Linked DNA regions of Homo sapiens: region 2 is linked to region 1. The links are contacts of gene promoters, found by promoter capture Hi-C in human tissues and cell types (Jung and others, 2019). All regions are on one chromosome and are shown on one strand. The core of a region is centred on a gene start or on the middle of the fragment in contact, and the rest is flanking DNA. Distances in the headings are between cores, read along the strand shown.

Region 1 (4,094 bases), core at 886-3,385:
TGACCTCGTGATCTGCCCGCCTCGGCCTCCCAAAGTGCTGGGATTGCAGGTGTAAGCCACTGTGCCTGGCCCAGTAGGCACTCTTTAAGAGCAGGTGTCACACAGTAGAAACTCTATGTAGACCATATGTAGACCATGAGTCACAGAGTGGGCACACTATGAAGAGCAGGTGGCAGCAGTAGGCACTCTTTATGTAGAGCAGGCAGCAGTGAGTAGGCACTCTTTATCAGGAGCAGATGATACTCAGTAAACACTCTTTATATAGAGCAGGTGGCATCTGTAGGCACTCTTTATCTAGAGCAAGTGGCATTCAATGGGCTCTCTCTCTTTTTTATTTTTTTGTGAGACAGAGTCTCACTCTGTTGCCCAGGCTGGAGTGCAGTGGTATGAACTCAGCTCACTGCAAACTCTGCCTCCCGGGTTCATGAGATTCTCCTGCCTCAGCCTCCCGAGTAGCTGGGATCATAGGTGCCCGCCACCACGCCCGGCTAATTTTTGTATTTTTAGTAGAGATGGGGTTTCACCATGTTGGCCAGGCTGGTCTTGAACTCCCGACCTCAGATGATCTGCCTGCCTTGGCCTCCCAAAGTGCTTGGATTACAGGCATGAGCTACTGTGCCTGGCCAGTAGGCACTCTTTATGTATTGCAGGTGGTACTGAGTAGGCACTTTTTATGTAGCGCAGGCAAGAGTAGGAACTCTTCATGTAGAGCAAGCAGCACTCAGTAGGCACCCTTTATGTACAGAAGGCAGCCCACAGTAGGTACACTTTATGGAGCACAGGCAACACTCGAGCAGGCAGCACTCAATAGACCCTCTTTATGTAGATCAGGAAACACTCAGTAGGAAGTCACCATATAGAGCAGGTGGTATCAGTAGGCACTGTTTATGTAGAGCACTTGGCACTCAGTAGGCATGTGTTATGTAGACAGCAACTGGTGCTCAGTGGGCACTCTTCATATACAGGGGGTGGCACTCAATAGGCACTCACTATGTAGAGCAGGTGGCACACAGTAGGCACTCTATGAGGAATATCAGGAACTGAGTATACAGGGTTAATGTAGAGCACCTGGCACACAGTAGGCACACTTTATGGAAAGCACTTGGCACAGAGTAGACAGGATTTAGCACCTGGCACACAGTAGCTGCCCTTCATTTAGAGTATTGGCACACAGTAGAAGTACTTTCCATGCAGCCTTTGTGCAGAGTAGAGACTGGCACACAGCAGCTCAAGTGCTAGTTGCCACCCTTTCCCTTCACTCCTTTTTGGGGCTCCCTCCTCTTAGGAGCCCTCATTGTCCCCCGCTAAGGCCCTCATCGAACATCCCATTTCCCAGATGGGAAGACTGCACCCAGGAGGGGCAGTACTGACCAAAGTCAGAGCAAGGATGAGGCAGAATGAGGACTCCATTCATGGTTCCCTGGCTCTGCCCTTCCCCTGCCTGGACCCCATCCGTTCCCTCTCATCCTAACCCTCCACGTCCCCGCTCTGTCCTCCTATACTGAGTCCGGCCTCCAGATTTGCTTTTCCAGCTGAGCTCTTAATCTCCAGAATCTGACCCAGGTAATCCTCAGTGGGGCTGGATTCTTTGTTCCCGTTCCTAGCAGTCAGGTCTCCAACAGGGCCCTGGACTGCCTGGAGGCAAGACTTGAACTCCATCCAGCAGCAGGGGGATAGAGGCTTGTCTCTTCCAGGTTGCCTGATTCAGCATCCAGAAGTGGTACACGGTGTCCTACCGGCCCAGGGTTAGAGAGGAGCACAGGAGATGATCTGGAACAAGGCTTGGCCTGGCCTGGCTCGCTTGACACCTGAACTCTCAAGTTCATGCTTTTATCTGCCACACACTCAGTAGGTGCTCTTTAAGAGCAGGTGTCACACAGTGGAAACTCTATCTGACCCCTCTCGGCTTACTCTCCACCTTATGTGGGAGGTGCTGAGACCTGAGGATCCAGTGCCTGTGCTGTGTCACCCTGAGCTGGTTCCTCTGCATCCAGCTGGTCTCCCACACCCAGGTTTTGGCCAGCTGCCCAGACATGGGAGCGGCACCCAGGCTGTGGGGATTGGCTGGCCCAGCCCAGCCCAGCCTAGCCTCCCACAGCCTTCCCTACATCAGGGGCCAGGGGAAAAAACCTCCCAGAAGAAGGGGAGAGGAGGTTGTGTGGGACAAGGTGCTCCTGACAGAAGGTGCCAGGGTGGGGGTGGTGGGCCTGGGGCATCCTAGCCTGTGATGGAGATGGGCACTGGGCAAGGGATTGGGCGCACACATAGGGGAGCCCCAGCCTTCCCACATTCTCCATTGCTGCCCAAGGCCCAGGCAGCTCCTGGTTGCTGGCTTGGAGGATGAGTGGTTTTCTAACTGAAACCAAGCCCCTGGCAACGTCCTAATGATTCAGGCTGGGCCTTTCTGGACTTTAATCAGTTTCTCTGTCTTTCTCAATCTAAGTGCTTACCGGGTAACTGGAGGCCACTTGGTTGCTGGTTTTGGCTGGGCCTTTCTGGACTTTACCCCTCAGCCCCTGTTTATCCATCCCTGTTTACTCTTACTGTTCTATCTCCAGCACTGCCCGTCTCTGCCTCTCTCCACTGTCCCTGGAGCTCCCTGGGCCCTTCCCTGGGCCTCAGGACCTCACTCACCACCCCATCTGCCCTGCAGGATGCCACAGCTGAGCCTGTCCTCGCTGGGCCTTTGGCCAATGGCAGCATCCCCGTGGCTGCTCCTGCTGCTGGTTGGGGCCTCCTGGCTCCTGGCCCGCATCCTGGCCTGGACCTATACCTTCTATGACAACTGCTGCCGCCTCCGGTGTTTCCCGCAACCCCCGAAACGGAATTGGTTCTTGGGTCACCTGGGCCTGGTGAGTGTGGCAGCAGGACGGGTCTGGGGTCTCAGGGTGGATGGACTTCCTGAGGGGTAAGAATGAGGCTCAGGTGAGAGGGGGTGGGCTGGGGTCTGGGGTGGCAGAGAAGCAGGGGAGGCGTCTTACTCATTCCTCTGCTTACTCATTTCTGTGAGGTGCCAACCCAAGCCCTTCTCACCTCCCTGTTCTCCCACTCTTGGCCTGTGTTGAATCCTTTTCCTGCCTGTCTTTCCACATTAATGCACCTCTGCGGGGCTCTTGGGCAGGGGGTTGGGTGCACAGAAAGGTGAACCCCTGGCGTTCCCACATTCTCCATTGCTGGACTCGAGGCCTCCTGTACCCACTGTTCAGGGTCCTCTCCCTACCTGGCCTATTTCCTCTTATGAGGGTATAGGTGGGCCAGAGGAGAGGTGTGGGCTGTCTCTCACCTCCACCACATCCGGAGGCACCTTCCTCTTATCTTGTTCCTCCCCAGTAAGATGTCCCAATGGGGTCCTGTTGCCAAACCCACATAAAAGTTGGCCACTCACTTCCCCTTTCAGAAGCCTTCCCTGACCTTTCTCCTCCCCCAGACCTTGCCCTCTGACTTAGACCTGCTCTCCCCTTTGCGGAACGTGGTCTCAATCTGCTCATTGCAAATGGCAGGATTGATGGGTGTGTCCACAGGTGAAGTGGGAGGGTGCACAGGATGCACTAGCACAGAGCCTGGTGCAGAAGCTTCTCCCAGGTGGGAGCCACTGTCATGATGGACAGTTAGAGTCACCTCTGCTCCCCTAGTGACTGCTGAGAAGGGAAGGTCCCCTGTGTGCAGAACCTTCTCCATGGGAGGAACTGGAACCTGTGTGGCTGGTGGAGGAACCAGCCAGGGCATGAAGGGATGTGGGGACCAGCCTTAGGGACATGTCCTGAGTCCACACTGCTCCCCACAAACCTCCCCTGTGAGGACCTCCTCATATGCCCACCTCTGGGCTGAAATGACTCCCAGAACAAGGAAATTTTTCCTCTCAAGCTAAGTGGGCCTCTGTGAGTGGACAGTGTGTCTTTTCCTTCTGCCTTGGGATGCGCTCTTGGGACTTGGGGGTGGCCCCAAGAGAGATAGAGCAGGAGGAATGTAGACAGATAGATAGGTAATAGGATAGATGGATGGATGGATGCACAGATAGGGTGAATAGATGGCTGGCTGGCTGGATAAGTAGGTGGGTAGATAGACAGATAGATAGATAGATAACAGGATAGATG
Region 2 (3,753 bases), core at 283-2,782, 360 kb after region 1:
CCAGACCAGATCTGTCTGTGGTGCCTCCACCCCAAGGCTTCAGCTGGAACTCTGGGTTCAAAGAATTCACGTGCATGATATTCACACTGTCAGTGAAAAACTTCATATAGGGCTTCAGCATGTTGAAATGGAAGGCGGGCATCAGCATCTGACGGTGGCAGCTCCACTTGTCACTGGCATTTACCAGGAGCCCATCCCCTAGTAGAGGCAGTCAAGGGCCATGGGCAAGGGTATCTCCCTCTTCTTACCCATCCCCCAAGGTTTTTCCCACCCTTGTTCACCTACAGGTACTCACCCAGCCAGGGCTTCAGGAACTTGTAGAAGGCCTCGTCTTTTGGTGCAATGGTGGCTGACATGAATGAGGACCATCAGAAACCATGGAAAGGGTGAGGGAGGGACTTTGGGTGTGGGGTGAGGCTCCAAGCCAGAGACCACACTTACTCCCTCAAAGCGCAGCATAGTAGAAACATGTGACATGGCCCCGATATGTGTTAACATGTCCTGACATGGTCACAAAATACACAACAAGCCCTAGCATGCTATGCTGTGCTCTAACAAGGATCTTAGACACTCTGAAATGACCTTAGCATGCCCTATAGGCAGGCCCCAGTTAGGATTCAGATTTAAATATGGTCCCTTTAATATCCCAGAAATAGCCCATGTCTGGTCCCAAATGTTCCATAGTCATGACTCAAATATACCCTGAAGCCTGTCTCAAACAATACTCAAACAATGTCTCAGAATGTTTACACACAGACCCTGGGTTCCAGACATGAGGCACATCCCTGGGATCATATGGAGATGGTTATGTCTAGGGCTCAGCTGTGGCCAAGAGTATTTGGGGTATGTGGGGTTTGTCTGCGATTCTGTTTGAGATAGTCTTTTTCTTCTGCTGGTGACGTCTGGGCCATGTTTGGGATGCGCCTCACGTTTGGGCAAGGGTAGGGCTCCAGGCTCGGGTGGCGTCTCCTACTGGAGATTCCTAGGGCCTGGAGCAGGAGGGCAATGAGCATATAGTGGAAGAACCACAGGATGGGGTAGAAGGAACCGACCCACAGAGGTGAATGTCATGAAAATAGCAGTCCAGATCCTCCACCAACTGCATGTCCTCCTCATTGTTCTGGGCTTGGGGACATGCAAGGTGATGCCAGGCCTGGCAGGAGGTCTTGAATTCTAATGTTGCCCATTGCATCGCTTCATCCCCCACTTTAAAACATTCCTACTCATTGTTAGAAACCCAGCTCCAGCAACTTCTCTTCCAGGAAGCCTTCCAGCCTGCCCCAGGAGAGACCAGGTTCTCCTCTGGGCTCTCCCAGCCCATCTCCTTCTGGACCACTCCTGACCCCATGACTTTGGGGATGTCTCTGCCCAGATCCATCTCCTCAAGCTTGGGAGATCCTTCCAGGACAGAGCCTTGGGTTGAGGCCTCATGGGGCTCCAGTAGTGCACAGAACGCCGGGGTGGTGGGGGGATGGCAGTAGTGGGAGGAGACGCTGAGATGGGGGTTGGTGAATACATGAAGGAAAGAGAAGATGGCTGAGGGTGAAGCAAGAAGGAAGGGCCTGGATACTGCAGCGGCCACACAGAAGCTTGGGGGAGGAGGGGCTTGCAGGCCTCAGATGCACCACGGCATTCACCACCAGGTGTTTCAGATGGTACCTGAGGCATTGATGACAGACCAGATGATGTTGGGGTGGCACAACCTGATGATGGGAGTAATGGGGTTCATCCAGATCTTAAAGCCCTGGGGGTAAGTGGCCACCAGCTGAGTCAGAACTCTCATGCCCTCCTTCATGTGGGGACCTGCAAGCAAGGCAGGGGCCTGTAATCCCAGCTACTCGGGATGCTGAGACACAAGAATCTCTTGAACCCAGGAGGCGGAGGTTGCAGTGAGCCGAGATCACGCTACTGCACTCCAGCCTGGGCAACACAGCAAGACTCCGTCTCAAAAAAAAAAAAAAAAGAAAAGAAAAGGAGGCCATCCTAGCACCATGCATGGAGTCCAGTTCTTTGGATAAGTATGCCACTGGGCAATGTTATGACCCTATAACTTGAGTCAGAACTCCTATAGCCATTTCTTTTTGTTCATGAACATATAGAAAGAAAGGCTTAGTTATGTCTGGTAGTCCTAAAGCTGGGGCCCAAGTTAAAGCTTCCTTGATCTGTTCAAATGCTATTTCTTGATTAGTCTTCGAAAGGAGGGGCTGTTTTTCTCCTATCTTTGTGGCTTCATATAATGGTTTAGCCATTAATGAAAAATTTGGAATCCAAATATGGCAAAATCCTGCTGCCTCTAAAAATTATCGTATTTGACACCGGGTGGTTGGGGTTGGGAGTGCACAAATGGCCTGCTTCTGTTTATAGCCAAGCTGGTGTTCTCTGTGGCTTACTATGAAACTTAGATATTTAACTTTTTCATGGCAAATTTGGGCTTTCTTTTTAGATACTTTGTAACTTGTTTTCCATAAAAGATGGAGGAGGTCCTGGGTTCCTTGGTAATAATCCTCTCGGGTTGGGGCTGCCAAAAGAAGGTCGTCCACGTACTGAAACAAGGCACAGTTATCATTTGGCAGGGTATAGGCCTTGAGGTTTGAGGCCAGTGCTTCCTCAAAGATTGTAAGAGAGTTTTTGAACCCTTGTGGGAGCTTAGTCCAGGTGAGCTGTGTAGCTTCCTTGTCCTATTGAAATGCAAAAATGGGCTGACTAACTGGTGCCAGTCAGATACAGAAGAAGGCATCTTTTAAGTCTAAGACCGTAAACCAAGTGGCAACTTGCTGGAATAAGTCCCATTAAAGTATATAGGTTTGGTACTACTAGGTGGATAGCCACTGTGGCCCTGTTTCTAGCCCGCAAGTCTTGCACTGGTCTATACACATTAGACCCTGGTCCTGGTGTCGGCTTTCATGCTGGCAAAAGTGGAGTATTCCGGGGAGACTGGCATCGGACTAAGATCCTGTGTTTATAGAGCCAGTCTAAATGCTTACAAATGCCTCAAATAGCCTCTCAGGGGACCGGGTACTGACGAACTCGAACCAGAGTTGCTCCTGGTTTCAGTTTAACTACTACTGGTGGATGATTTACAGCCAGCCTAGGTGGGTTATCTTCAGCCTATACCTTAGGAATTTTATTAACTAGTCCAAATAATAATTTTTCTTCTTTCCGTGTATGAAGCTGCACTGGCGCCTGCAGTTTCTTTCTATGAAGTCTCCATTCCTCAGCCTGTGGAATGGTAAGGGTTAACACTATGGCTTTTGGGTGAGTCAGATTGAAAGTCATATCTTTTTGAAGCCTAAAAGTAATCTGTGCCTGCAGTTTTTGAAGTAGGTCTCTTCTTAACAAGGGAACTGGACAAGTTGGGAGGTATAGGAATTCATGCTAGACTTCTCGTCTTCCTATAACACACCTCCTTGACTGACTAAATGGCCTCTTCTCTGAGACTCCAGCAGCTCCTGCAATAGTTGTATAGTTCTTGGATAGTGGCCCTATGGGTCAAGTTACTACAGAGTGTTCAGCCTCAGCATCTACAATAAAGTTCATCAATTGGCCTCCAACTTTTAATGTGACCACAGGCCCCTGGAGGCCTAATGAGAAGGAGCCTGGTCTGTCCTAATCCTCACATCCTTCAGCTCCTGTCAGCCCAATCAGGTCAGTATCTGGTTCCTCTAAGGCACCGCAGCCCTTGGCCGATGGCCTCTTTGTCTCACGGCCTTGGCCATTTCTTTCATTGCCTTCTGGACATTCATCCTTTTAGTG

Evidence for each region. Contacts are between HindIII fragments. The study calls those that stand out against the background at their distance.
Region 2: a contact is called between a fragment that was not itself captured here and the fragment with the promoter of CYP4F3 in region 1, in 4 of the 25 tissues and cell types used here (H1 embryonic stem cells, liver, lymphoblastoid cells and 1 more).

What each region holds. Positions count from the first base shown.
Region 1 is chr19:15,638,762-15,642,855 of GRCh38, forward strand. It overlaps CYP4F3 (cytochrome P450 family 4 subfamily F member 3), which reads left to right and starts at 2,136. Exons shown (of 13, transcript NM_000896.3): 1 at 2,136-2,184; 2 at 2,654-2,852. The coding sequence starts at 2,655. The HindIII fragment of the contact is 9,363 bases long and covers 1-4,094 here.
Region 2 is chr19:15,997,233-16,000,985 of GRCh38, forward strand. It overlaps the pseudogene LOC124900424 and the pseudogene CYP4F9P. Among named protein-coding and RNA genes, the nearest start is that of LINC00661, 17 kb to the right of the region's middle. The HindIII fragment of the contact is 3,126 bases long and covers 1-3,095 here.